Regions from separate parts of the Homo sapiens genome. Here all the other regions are linked to region 1. The links are contacts of gene promoters, found by promoter capture Hi-C in blood cells and fetal thymus (Javierre and others, 2016). All regions are on one chromosome and are shown on one strand. Each heading gives the region's core, a stretch centred on a gene start or on the middle of the fragment in contact. The rest is flanking DNA. Distances are from core to core; before and after follow the strand shown.

Evidence for each region. Contacts are between HindIII fragments. The CHiCAGO score rates a contact against its expected background, and 5 or more counts as called.
Region 2: a fragment that was not itself captured here is called in contact with the fragment with the promoter of LAMA5 in region 1 in 4 of 17 cell types (endothelial precursors, megakaryocytes, M2 macrophages and 1 more); the score reaches 7.5 in endothelial precursors.
Region 3: a contact is called between a fragment that was not itself captured here and the fragment with the promoter of LAMA5 in region 1, in 1 of 17 cell types (erythroblasts). The highest score is 5.5, in erythroblasts.

The regions. Positions count from the first base shown.
Region 1 is chr20:62,365,175-62,369,265 of GRCh38, forward strand. It overlaps LAMA5 (laminin subunit alpha 5), which reads right to left and starts at 2,138. Exons shown (of 80, transcript NM_005560.6): 1 at 1,775-2,138. The coding sequence starts at 2,071. RefSeq lists enhancers at 1-244, 943-1,642, 3,741-4,091 and a silencer at 1,822-2,261. The HindIII fragment of the contact is 18,996 bases long and covers 1-4,091 here.
Region 2 is chr20:62,199,352-62,203,634 of GRCh38, forward strand. It overlaps MTG2 (mitochondrial ribosome associated GTPase 2), which reads left to right. Exons shown (of 7, transcript NM_015666.4): 7 at 1,332-4,217. The coding sequence ends at 1,726. Among named protein-coding and RNA genes, the nearest start is that of MTG2, 18 kb to the left of the region's middle. The HindIII fragment of the contact is 2,804 bases long and covers 841-3,644 here.
Region 3 is chr20:62,175,866-62,180,382 of GRCh38, forward strand. It overlaps SS18L1 (SS18L1 subunit of BAF chromatin remodeling complex), which reads left to right. Exons shown (of 11, transcript NM_198935.3): 11 at 3,317-4,517. The coding sequence ends at 3,343. Among named protein-coding and RNA genes, the nearest start is that of MTG2, 4.9 kb to the right of the region's middle. The HindIII fragment of the contact is 7,143 bases long and covers 1-4,517 here.

The DNA.
Region 1 (4,091 bases), core at 888-3,387:
GACATGAGCTGGGCGAGGCCGGCTGGTTTCTCATCCAAGCTGGCTCTGAGGCATGGAGCACCACAGCCCACAGCTGCCACTGAAACTGTGGCCACTTCCCAGGCTCCTCGGGCCAAGCTCACAGTCTCAGGTGAGGGGGGCCAGCACGCTGTGCCCATTTTAAAGACAGCTTGAGGCTGACAGAGGGAAGCCACACAGCTGAGGCAGAGGAGAGGGGCGTTGACTACAGGCTGGCCCTTTACTCACGAGACGGGGGTAATAAGCCCCCACAGAGGAGACAGATCTGAGAGGGGGCCTGTGGCCCCCAGCCACGCAGCATGGGCAGGCTGTGGGGGGGTGGTCTGAGGTTCACAGGGCACCTGGAGCCTCCCCTGCCAGAACGGCAAAATCTCAGCTGGGGACACTCAGCCAGGCCCTCTGTGGTGAGGTGTGGCAGCAGGTAAGGAGACAGTCACAGGCCCTCCGTCCTGAGACCCGGCCCCTCTGAGTTGACCAGATAAGGGGGCAGCCAGGAGGCACCCAGGTTCCCACAGCTAACCCCCGCTGGACCCTGTTCTGGCTGGGGGGCTCCAAGCAGGTGTCAGCAGCTTTCCAGGGCTCAGATCCCCCATCTGAAGTGTGGGCTTGAGACCTCCTATCTCAGAGGACTGTGCTGGGCTTAAGGAGAGAACGGTGAGCCCAGAAGCCTGGGGAGGCTCCTTCCCCCTCCACCAGGGCCAAGGGGGTGGGGCAGGCAGAGGGGGCGGGCCCAGCCCAGGCTCCTCCATTCATCCCCATAACGTCTTGCTCCAGGGCCCTCTGCCCCCACCCAGCAAATCTCCAGCTACTCGCCCCTGCCCCAGCCTCTCCTTCCGGGAAGGCAGAGGTACCAGGGAGGAGACAGCTCAGGTTACACAGGCCCTCAGGGCCCCTAGACTCTCCCTAAGGTGGGGCTGAGGTGGGGAATGGGCCTAGAGCGGCCGGTTGGGAGCCGTTGGAGCTGACTTTGCTGCTCCTCACCCAAGGCTGACCCCAGGCCCAACCTAAGTCTACAGGGCCCCAAGAGCCTTGGTTTTCAGGTGAGGTGTCCATGCATGGAGTCCACCAACAGAACCCGCCTACAGGTTTAAGGCTTGTTGGGGAGGGGACATGCACCCCAGGGGGTCTTCAGGGCCTGAACCCACATCTCCCAGGGAGACTGAAGCCCCCGGACCCTACCACCTGCTGGGCAGAGATGCTGCCCCTCCTGGGAGCCACGTGTTCCCAGCCCCAGTCAAAACTTCGCAGCTGGCCCTCCCCTACTTTGGAGGTCTCCTCGAGTCCCTAGACTCCTCCGAGAGGGGCTAGTGGGAGCCTCAGGTGGCTGGCCCCTCCCACCCCATCCAGAGGCCAACAGGTTCCAGCCTGTCCCGGGTAGGGCGGAGCTGCGCCCCCTCCCCACCGGCAGCAGGCGGCGGAGGCCAAGTCCCGCCCTCCCCGGGATCCCGGACTTGGGGCCGCCAGGGACTGGGCCCGGCCCCCCTCCCGCCCCGGTCACCGCAGTCGAACTGGACCGGCGCCCAGCCGCCCCCGGGTCCATGCCGGGGACTTTAATTCCGCCTTCCCGGAGGGACGCGAAGTTTCCCGGCCGAGACGGAGCGGCCGGGTCGGGGTGCCTTCTTGGGCCCCCAAAATGCGGAACCAGAGAGTCCGCACCTGGACTCGCCCCGGGCCACGGCGCTCCCCCTGGGGTCGGGCCGGTGTTCCGGGTCCGAGTGCCCCGGGAGGAAGCCCCACGGCCCGCCCCTGCGCTCACCCGGATGGTCTGGTTGGGGTCGCCGCCGGCCACGGGGCCCCCTACCAGCTTGCAGTAAAGGTCCTCGGTGGGGCGCGGGGAGCCGCGCGCCGGGGCCTCCTCTCCGCAGGTCGCGGAGGCGGCGATGCGGGCGCCCTCGGCCAGGTTGAAGTAGGGCGGGTGCAGGCTGAAGCCGCCGCCCGCCTCCTCCCGCGCCCGCGCCGCGCCCAGCAGCGCCAGCCCGACCAGCAGCAGCGGCGCGGGGCCCCGGGGGCCGCGAACACACAGTGCGCTCCCCGCGCAGAGCCGCTTCGCCATCTTCCCGGCTCCGGGCCGCGTCCCCGAGCTCCAGGGACAGCGCGCGCGGCGGGAGCCCGGCGGGTCTGAAGCCAGGCGGCCGGCAGGGCTCGCTCCGCCCGCGGACGTCAGGCCCCGCCCCGGCCCGCCCGAGCGCCCGAGCCCCGAGCCCCGGGGAGAGGTCCGGGGAGGCGGGGTGGGGGGGGGAAGGAGAGAGGAGGGGGAGGGGCGGCCGGGCGGCCTTAACCCTTCGGACCCCGGCCCGGCCGCCTCCCGGAAGGGGCACCTGCTGGCCTCGGGCCAGGCCGTGGGACGACGGCGCCGCCGGGCCCCCAGCCCAGGTCGTAGCTCCGGGTCCCGGGTGGGACCCTAGCGCTCCCCACGACGCCCTGGCCCCCAGAGCGCCCACCAGCTCCTCCCAGCCCAGGGGCCCACTCTTTGTTCCCCTAACTTGGGTGCACCACTCGGCTGCCCCCGCTCCTCCCCCAACAGCGTCCGTCCTGCTGGCTGCGGGAAGGTGCCCTCTGCACCCGCGAATGACCATCTGCAGAGGAACGGGGCAGCCTAGGTGGGAACCCCCTGCTTCCTGGGGCAGCCAGGTCAGGTTCAACTCGGCCTGGCTCCCGCCTGCCCCAGCAGGGCTTAAAAATACTCTCAGATAGGGAAATAGGGGCAGGAGGGACTGGCCTGCAGCTGCAGCCCCCTTTAGAGGACGGGGGCGGTGCTCATGGCCCCACAGCCGCCAAATTGGCTCTTAAGGAGGTCGGGGGCTCTGGTCACAGCTGCTGAGCACCTGCTGGGTGCCTGGAAGCACCTGTGCTCCGGGGCCCGGTGGACTCCACCAGCTCTCTCGGCCTGGCCTCCAACCCGCTGCACAGCCGCGCACGCGTTCCTGCCACGATCGGCGGCTCGAGGACGCCTGGCAAACAGCACAGGACCTAGAGGCCGAGATCAGGTCTTCGTCTGCCTTTGGGTGGCTGCGGCCCTGGGTCTCCTACTTCCCTTGGGCTCCGGGGCCAAATCTGCCTCCAGGGAAGCCCCGAGGGGGTGGCGGCGGGGTGGGGCTGCAGCTGCCGAGCTGGCAGCAAACCCCCATCCCTGAGCCAGGCCAGCTGGGCGGGCCATGGTCCCAGATGGGCTGTGGGGCTCATCTCTCGCTGGGTTCCCTGGACAGTCCCGGGGGGCTGGGTGGGTTTGTGGGGCACTGGCCAGCCGGTTCTGGTGGGGGTTCTGAGCTAGCAGCTGTCCCTGGAGGGTGCACCTCCTTGCACACCTTCCTGGCGCCCTGGCCTCCTGCAAATCTCAAATCCCAAGAGGGTGTATGGCCCTTTCTCTACGGAGTCGGGAGGGCGATGGGACCCTCTCTCCCTCCTCCTACTTTCCGGCCCGGCAATTCTTCCATAACTTCACTATTAGTTCTCCCACCTGGGGGAGGGGGGAGAGGAGGCGGCTCCCCTTGGCAGGAGAAGCTCCAAGTGGGGGAGGGGCTGGCTGGAGAGGGGGCGGAGACATCAAGGAATCTGCAGTCCAGGCGCAGAGTCCGGCTCTGAGCTGCTTTAGATCCCGTGTGAGGCAGAGAGTGGCCTCTGGGCAGTAGCGGGTCCCCAGGTGGGGGCTTGGCCCCAGGCAGTGTGCTCTGGCTCTGGGCTCCCCCTTGACAGCTTGGGGCTCTGACAGCCTGGGGGACTGGAGGTGGAGACTCCTGAGACCCTGAGGGCTTCTTGGGATCCCTGGAGGGTCGGGTGGTTGGAGGGGTGGGATTGCGAGTGGCGGGGCAGGGGGAGAGGTGGGGGTGGGGAGAGCACTTTAAGCCTCCTAGCGGCCAGATCAGGCCAAGCTGCCAGGCCTCCGCTGTCCCCCGGCACTGGCCAGGAGGGGAGCGGGGGCCGGCCCTGAGAATGCGCTGTGTCAGCCGGAGCTGCCAGCACCAGCAGGGTTAATCACCGGGCTCACTGCTTCCCGGCAGACAGCTGCCCCGGGAGCAACTGGCAGGCAGGCGGGCAGCGCAGTGGACAAGAGAATGTGGCCCAGGGGCTGGGTA
Region 2 (4,283 bases), core at 993-3,492, 170 kb before region 1:
TGTAGCATTGTTGGCCAGGCGTGGTGGCTCACACCTGTAACCCCAGCACTTTGGGAGGCCGAGGCAGGCGGATCACGAGGTCAGGAGATCGACACCATCCTGGCTAACATGGTGAAACCCCGTCTCTACTAAAAATACAAAAAAATTAGCTGGGTGTGGTGGCGGGCACCTGTAGTCCCAGCTACTTGGGAGGCTGAGGATGGAGAATGGCATGAACCCAGAAGGCAAAGCTTGCAGTGAGCCGAGATCATGCCACTGCACTCCAGCCTGGGCGACAGAGCGAAACTCCATCTCAAAAAAAAAAAAAAAAAAGTAGCATTGTTTTTCCTAATGTAAACAACTTTTTTTTTTTTTTTTTTTTGAGACGGAGTCTCACTCTGTCACCCTGGCTGGAGTGCAGTGGTGCGATCTCAGCTCACTGCAACCTCCACCTCCCATATTTAAGTGATTCTCCTGCCTCAGCCTCCCAAGTAGCTGGGATTACAGGCGTGCGCCACCACGCCCAGTTAATTTTTTTGTATTTTTAGTAGAGACGGGGTTTCACCATGTTGGCCAGGCTGGTCTCGAACTCCTGATCTCAAGTGATCTGCCCCCCGCCCCACCTTGGTCTCCCAAAGTGTTGGGATTACAGGCGTGAGCTACTGCACCTGGCCCTAATTTAAACAATTTTCATCAGCCTGTTCTCTATGAAAATCAGGTTCCCACCCCATCCCCTAGGAATCTGTCAGTTACAGTTCAGAAACCTGCATTGAAATTCCAGCCGAGGACAGTATTTCTTCCCACTCTATTTGTCCCCTCTCATCTGTGGAAGCTCAGCAGCATCACAACACGTGACTTAAAAGCTTTCCTTGTGCCGTTTGAGAGAATAAAACTTTTTCCCAGAAGACAATACACCCATTAAAAATAGTAAGCCTGCTGGTAAGGTTATTTGGATGGCACTTTATATCTGCAGAGTACTCTACATGTAAATTTCTATCAGTAATCAAATGATTAGTAGAGTACAGGCAGCCATTTTCCTCTTTTTTGAATCCTATTAGAAGCAGAAAGAGAAGGTATGAAATGTACTCTACTAGATAGATCCATCGCCACGCTGGTCTCCCAAACATCTCCAAGCATTGAATTCCTCAGGTGTCAGTTGGCCCAGTGAATCACCCAGGTGCTAAATCAAATGGCTTCAGTTCAAGGCGTTCCTTGAAAGGAAAGTGTTAGAACTCAGGAAATCCGCCTTCGCAGTGGGCTCCAGGCCTTCTCTCCCAGGCTCGAGGTGGAAGGCGCTCTTGGGTGCTGGGTGTGCCAAGTGGTCACCTCGTGTGCCCCTGTCTTCCCTGCAGTGGCCGACATCCCCGGCATCATACGAGGCGCCCACCAGAACAGGGGTCTGGGGTCCGCCTTCCTCAGGCACATCGAGCGCTGCCGCTTTCTCTTGTTCGTGGTGGATCTTTCTCAGCCTGAGCCGTGGACTCAAGTTGACGATTTAAAATATGAACTGGAGATGTATGAAAAGGGCCTGTCTGCGAGGCCCCACGCAATCGTCGCAAACAAGATTGACCTCCCTGAAGCCCAAGCCAATCTGTCCCAGCTCCGGGATCACTTGGGACAGGAGGTCATCGTGCTGTCGGCGTTGACCGGCGAGAACCTGGAGCAGCTGCTGTTGCACCTGAAGGTGCTGTATGACGCCTACGCGGAGGCCGAGCTGGGCCAGGGCCGCCAGCCGCTCAGGTGGTAGCCACGCCAGAGCGGGGTCGCCTCTGGGCCTCTGTCTGAGCAAACCTGGGTGTGAATTCGGTGGTTTTGAATGCATAAAGTGCCTTGTGGACACGGGGGAGTTGTGGTGCTTCTGGGTCTCTGGGCCCCGCCTGCTGGCCTGAGATGCCCTCATGTTGGGAAGCATTCCGTGCCCCCTACCCCGCCTGCCCTCCGTATTTCCTGCACCTGTCAGCCTGCACCGACTGATGAGCCAGTTGCTCATTTGTGCTGATTAACACCCCTAATAAGGGGTTGGGGTGCCCATAACGGGGTGGCCCTGCCGCTGACTCAGGTCTCCGCCATGCACGCGTGGACTCTCGGATGAGCTCAGCAGAACCGCACAGCCAGAGCCCCAGGTCAGAAGTGCAGACCAGGGTTCTCAGCACAGTGCCCGTCGTGCTTCCATGGCTTGCTACGGAGAGAGACCTCTGGATCCACACTGGGGCTGCGTCTGGCCCGTTGTCCAGCAGCCCTGCGGTACCGCAAGCCCAGGCACCAGTGTCTCGGGGGGCCTCACTGCTGCGCAAGGGGTGGGGCCGAGGATGCAAGTCCAGGCAGAGCGGCGCAGGCAGCTGTGAGCTTTTCTCCATCAGCCGTCTGAGAAGAGCAGTGAGGCCAGCTGCTTCCTGTCCTTCAGAACACTTCTCTGTGCTCAGTGGGAGCCAGGAAGCCTCAGGCTTCACGACTGAATGCACCCAATATCCGACCTGGCTGCGTGTTTCTGGCTGGGCTGCCGTGTGCACAGCAAGTTAACTAGAGGGGCTGTGGGCCATGGAACTGTCAGCGTTATTCTCAGAAGGCGGCCGTGGCATGGGCAGGGTATAGTGAGGAGTGGAAGGAGACGTGTGCCTGGTAATATGGGGCGGAATTTCCACTCAGCTCCATTTGCTGGGGATTTAAAGAGAACCCTTGTGCTACGCCAGGCAGTTACCGAGCCGAAGGGAGATGATGGGCCTTCGCCCCTCAGTGGGATGGCAGCTGAGGGGGCCCTGCATTTGACCGTCGAGACTGCAGCAGCGCCTTTCCTGTCTGTGGTTTAAGTCTTTGCAGTCAAGTACTGATGCATCCAAGCCAGGCCCATGCCTGGTGTCTCCCTGACTGCAGAGGAGCCCCAGGGCAAGGACAGCTCAGCTGCTGGCAGCCTGCCTGGCCCATAGACATCCCCCAAGTAGTCTCAGGCCTCTGACATGTCCCTGAGGGGCCCCTAAGAAAGAAAGTGGAGGGGACACTCCAGAGGCTGTCGTGGGAGGATCATGTGAGCCTGGGAGGTCAAGGCTGCAGTGAGCCGTGATTGCACCACTGCACTCCAGCCTGAGTGACAGAGCGAGACCCTGTCTCAAAAAACAAACAAACAAACAAACAAAAACAGAACATTCTGGGCACGGTGGCTCATGCCTGTAGTCCCAGCACTTTGGGAGGCCGAGGCTGGTGGATCACAAGGTCAGGAGATTGAGACCATCCTGGCTAACACAGTGAAACCCCGTCTCTACTAAAAATACAAAAAAATTAGCCAGGCGTGGTGGCGGTCACCTGTAGTCCCAGCTACTCGGGAGGCTGAAGCAGGAGAATGGCGTGAACCTGGGAGGCGGAGCTTGCAGTGAGCCGAGATCACACCACTGCACTCCAGCCTGAGCGACAGAGCAAGACTCCATCTCAAAAAAAAAAAAAAAGTGGAGGGGACAAAGAAGCAGAGAAGGATGATCAGAAGGGGACCCCCAGCCCTTGGAGGAGAGACGGCAGCCTCAGGTGAGATGAGCCGCAAGGGTCCGGGGCCGCGTCTCTGCACGCTGGGGTGGGGCGCGCTTTGCACAGCAGGCCGGTGCCTGGGCTTTCAGGAGCAATTCCGTTTTGATCTCACATCAAATCTGCAGCTAGAACATGACAGTCCTTTTACCCGAAGCTTTATTTTAATGTCTTATAATTTCAAAGGTCCTTCTATCCTAGAAACCAGAGATGGGTTTTGCATCTATTTGCTTTTTCTTTCAGGCCGCCACAAAGGATTTTGTGGAGTCGCCCCAGGCCTGACGGCGTTAATTATCCCTGGCTTTCATCTTGATGCTCTTGCAGGGGAGGCTCAAGATGCCTTGTGGCTCGACCCCTGCACGGAGCCCCCAGCCCAGCCTCCCCGTGGGTTGAAACCTTGATCTGGGCCTGACTGTGGCTGCTCTGGGGACATGCCCTCGTCCTTTGCTGAAGCTGAGGCTCCAGAGGGGGAGTCACTGCCACGAAGGTTGCCCAGAACTTTCCTTGCTGCAAAAAGCCCCAAGACTTCTCCCTGCCACACACACAGCTTTTGCCATCGCGTTCTAAAAGCTGACAGCTTTCTCTCCAACACTGTTCTCCCTGAGTAGGGTAAAGCTACACTTGGCTTCCCCAGTTTCCTGTTTCCTGCCTAGAAACAAATTTTTGTCAGTCTGCTTTTCAAATGGGATATATGATTCACATACCATAAAATTCACCACTTTATATAATTCAGTGGTTTTTTTGTATGTTCAGAAGGTTGTGCAACTGTCAAACTGCAAATTCCAGAACGTTTT
Region 3 (4,517 bases), core at 1,104-3,603, 190 kb before region 1:
CGCTGATGAGGCATTTACACAGATGTCAGGAGGGCTCTGGTGTGCTCTCAGGACACTGTGAGGCCACTGTAGCCGACGCAGGGGCCGCCTCTCCCCAGTGTGTGCTGGGCGCTGGTCAGCGGGGAGCAGGCCCCAGCTTGGCCCTCCAGGTTTGCACAGGAGTGTCATGCTGGAGTCTGGAAGGACAGCAGTCTGCATCCTGATGTTAAATTAGAATTATATGTGAATGATTCTGATGAGACGCCATACCTCCTTCATACAGTCCTGAAAATAACTTATTTGGATTTTGTGAAATAAGTGAATGTCCTAACTTAATTATAAGACTGAACCAGAGGACATATAACTTTATACCTACCTATGAAAAGACCGTGACCGGTCGTGGTGGCCCATGCCTGTAATCCCAGCACTTTGGGAGGCCAAGGCAGGAGGATCACTAGAGCCCAGGAGTTTGAGACCAGCCAGGGTAACATAGCAAGACCTGTCTCTACAAAAAATAAAGTAGTCAGGCATGGTGGTGCATGCCTGTAATCCCAGCTACTTGGAAGGCTGAGGCACGAGGATCCCTTGAGCCCAGGAGGTCGAGGCTGTAGTGAGTCGTGATTGCACCATTACACTCCAGCCTGGGCTACAGAGAGCGAGACTTTGTCTTAAAAAAAGGAAAAAGAAAGGCCAGGCGTGGGGGCTTACACCTGTAATTCCAGCACTTTGGGAGGCTGAGGCGGGTAGATCACCTGCAGTCAGGAGTTGGAGAGCAGCCTGGCCAACATGGTGAAACCCCATCTCTGCTAAAAATACAAAAATTAGCCGGGTGCCTGTAAGCCCAGCTATTGGGGAAGCTGAGGTGGGAGAATCGCTTGAACCGGGAAGGCAGAGGTGAGTTGAGATCACGCCACTGCACCCCAGCCTGGGCGACAGAGAGACTCCATCTCAAAAAAAAGAAAAAGACACAGAGCAATGGGGAAGATAGAGAATAGAATTTCACATCTGGGGGGAAATGTGTCCATCTAACTGCAAAATATTAAGATAGCCTTTAGTCAGCATCCAGTGTAGCTGGCCGTGGCGCTTTGGCACAGCACTGCCGGCGCTGGGCGTCTCCTAGGGGCCATTGTGCACACTGTGTTATGTTTGCAGCACCCCTGGCCTCCACCACGATGCCAGTAGCACCCCCATTGCCCAGTCTGACAATTTAAAATGACTCCAGACATTGTCAGATGCCCCAGGGGCAAAACTGTCTCCGTTTGAGAACCACTGGGCTACACTTAAACATGTGCTGAGGCGGCCAGGCGCTGTGGCTCACGCCTATAGCACTTTGGAAAGCAGAGGCGGGCGGGAGCAGATAGAGACGGAGGTTGCAGTGAGCTGAGATCGCGCCATTGTATTCCAGCATGGGCAACAAGAGCGAAACTCTGTCTCAAAAAAAAAAAAAAGGTGCTGAGGCATTGGGGCTGCCAGTGGTTTTATAGGGCTCCAGGGCTGCCATGCCTTCAGCTGAGCAGCTCTGGATTTGAGGCTTTCCGTCTTACCCAATGGTGCAGGAGCAGAAAGACATCAGAACAGACTCCCACTAACTAGAATCATCACAGGCAGCTCTGGGAATGAGAATGTGACGTGTTCGGTCAGGCTGGAACAGCTTTCCTCCCTCCCCCACTTCCTCGCTGGGGGCATTCGGGAAATCTGATCATTAACTAGCTGGGGACACATGGAGAACAGGCATGCAGATGATGATCCGTTGTCTTCCCCTGTGGCAGTCTCCCGAGTGGCTTTCACCACAGGTCCGATGCTCCGTTTTGCTGCCCAAGGAATTCTGCCTTGTGGCCTTGTGGGGCACAGGCTCTCTAGTTTCTCTTCTTCATGTTGTTTTTTGTTGTTGTTTTTGAGATGGAGTCTTGCTCTGTTGCCCAGGCTGGAGTGCAGTGGCACGATCTCGCTCACTGCAGCCTCTGCCTCTCGGGTTCTAGCAATTCTCCTGCCTCAGCATCCGGAGTAGCTGGGATTACAAGCACGTACTATCACACCTGGCTAATTTTTGTATTTTTAGTAGAGACAGGGTTTCGCCATGTTGGCCAGGGTGGTCTCGAGCTCCTGACCTCAGGTGATCCTTCCAAAGTGCTGGGACTGTAATCCTACAGGCATGAGCCACTGTGCCTGGCCTTTTTTTTTTTTTTTTTTTTTAAGACAGGGTCTCACTCTGTCGCCCAGGCTGGAGTGCATTGGCAGGAACATGGCTCACCGCAGCCTCAACCTCCGGGGCATGCGCCACAACATGTGGCTTATTCTTTTTTTTTTTTTTTTTTTTTTTGAGACAAGGTCTCACTCTGTCACCCACACTGGAATACAGTGGCATGATCTCGGTTCACTGCAACCTCCACCTCTCAGGCCCAGTGATTCTCCTGCCTCAGCCTCCCAAGTAGCTGGGATTACAGGCACGTGCCACTACCACCTGGCTAATTTTTTTTTTTGTATTTTTAGTAGAGATGGGGTTTCACCATGTTGGCCAGGCTGGTCTTGAACTCCTGACCTCAAATGATCCACCCACCTCGGCCTCCCAAAGTGCTGGGATTGCAGGCGTGAGCCACTGTGCCTGGCCGAGGCTAATTTTTTCTCTTTTTTTGTAGAGATGGGGTCTTGCTGTACTGCCCAGGCTGGTCTCAAACTCCTGGGCTCAAGCAGTCCTCCTGCCTCGGCCTCCCAAATTCAGATTTGTTTTTGAAACAGGGTCTCACCCAGACTAGAGTGCAGTGGTGCAATCACGGCTCACTGCAGCCTTGACCTCCTGGGCTCAAGCGATCCTCCCACCTCACCCTCCAAGTATCTGGGACTATTGGCACACGCCACCACACCCAGCTAATATTTGGATTTTTGTAGAGATGGAGTCTGGCCATGTTGCCCAGCCTGGGTCTTTAGATTTTTTTTTATAGATTGAAACCCATCACCCTGGTCGTCCCCGCTCCCATTTTCTTACTGTAGCAGGCTCGGGGGCAGATGGTGTTTGCATTGGCTCCCAGTGGGGCCAGCTTGGAGGAGAGCCTTCCTGCATAGCAGGCCCAGCATAAGGCTCTGATGCCAGGCCTGGCACAGGCCCGGCCGCAGCGATGCCAGTGTGTGACTGAACAAATGAACCTTTGGCCCTGTCTACGTTGTTAGCCCCAGGCTTGGCCAGTGGCTTCTGGAAAGTCGTTCGCTGCCCCGCAGAGATGTGAGCAGAGGTTGTTTGCTTGCTGTTGTCCCTCCTACCCCCTGTCCGGGCTGGGGTGGACGTCTGTCTTCCTTTCACTCATTACTATAGGGGTGTAATCTGTGTCTTGATCTCTTTTAGGGCCAGTATGGAAATTACCAGCAGTAAGGGACACACATTCTGGCTGGAGCCCTTGTGGTAGCGTGTTCATCCAGGGGCCGGATGGGCTGGCGGCAGCTCTGGTGAATTGTGACATGTTGGTTACCTGTTCGCCCAGTGCCACGTCTGCATGTGAAGCGTGCTCATTTCATGCTGGGTATGACGCCGAGCGCACACCACTGGCGTGAGACAGCGCTTGGTGGTGTGATACTTTTGGTGCTGTGTATAGTATTGTATGTCGGTACACGGAGAGGTATCCTTTTTTTGTCCCCCGCCCCCTTCTCAATGTTTCTAGCTAGCTTTGGGGGTCATTTTGTCATCAGAGCATTCTGTGCCCAGGGACAGGACAGATCTCGAGGACACCACAGTCCACCTGTTCCCGTCAACAGACGTTAGGTCTCATTTTCCTCCTCATGCAGTGTTGTAGTGTGGGTTGTCAACTTTTCTTTAACTGGCTACGCCACAGCTGGACACACATGCAGCCCCTGGAGGGCAGCCTCTTCCTGTGCCTCGATGGGGTGGGTGGGAGGGCATCTTCTGTGCGTTGGGTCAGTTTCTGTTACGTAACGAAAAGGATAAACATCTCCCACGGGAGAGGCCACAGATGGCCACTTCCAGAGCTTGCCCATTGCCTGTCTCTCGCCAATTCCGTTTATCCAAAAAGGTACATGTTTTTGTATTAAAAAGTAAACAGGGATCAGTGACTGTATTCCAAATAAATATGAATCCCTAAGGGCCGTGGACAAATTGCCTAACCCAGGGCCAGCGGTATTGCTGAAGGAAAGGGGCAGCTCTCTGGGAAGTGGGCCCTCAGAGATTACTCTGGCTTTGACCCTTGTTTAGCTGATGGTCATTTCTGGGATTGGAATATTTAATAAGCCCAATTCTAAGTTGATAGGTAATTTTAAATATTCAAACCAAATCTTCCCAACAGTTGGCAAGTTGTTTATTTTATATTATTTCTTCCAGGACCTACTTGCTCAGATCTCCAAGCAAGCATTTCTTTTCTTTTAGGGATGTCTGAAAGTCACATCCAGTTACATTACTGTGTTCTTTCTAATGAAAAGTAAAGGTTTTATATAGAGAAACTTGAGTAATTTTTACATTTCTAAGACATTAAATCCCATTTAAATTCTGTGTGAACATTAAAGACAGCACACTTGCAAAAGTATGGTCAAAGGAA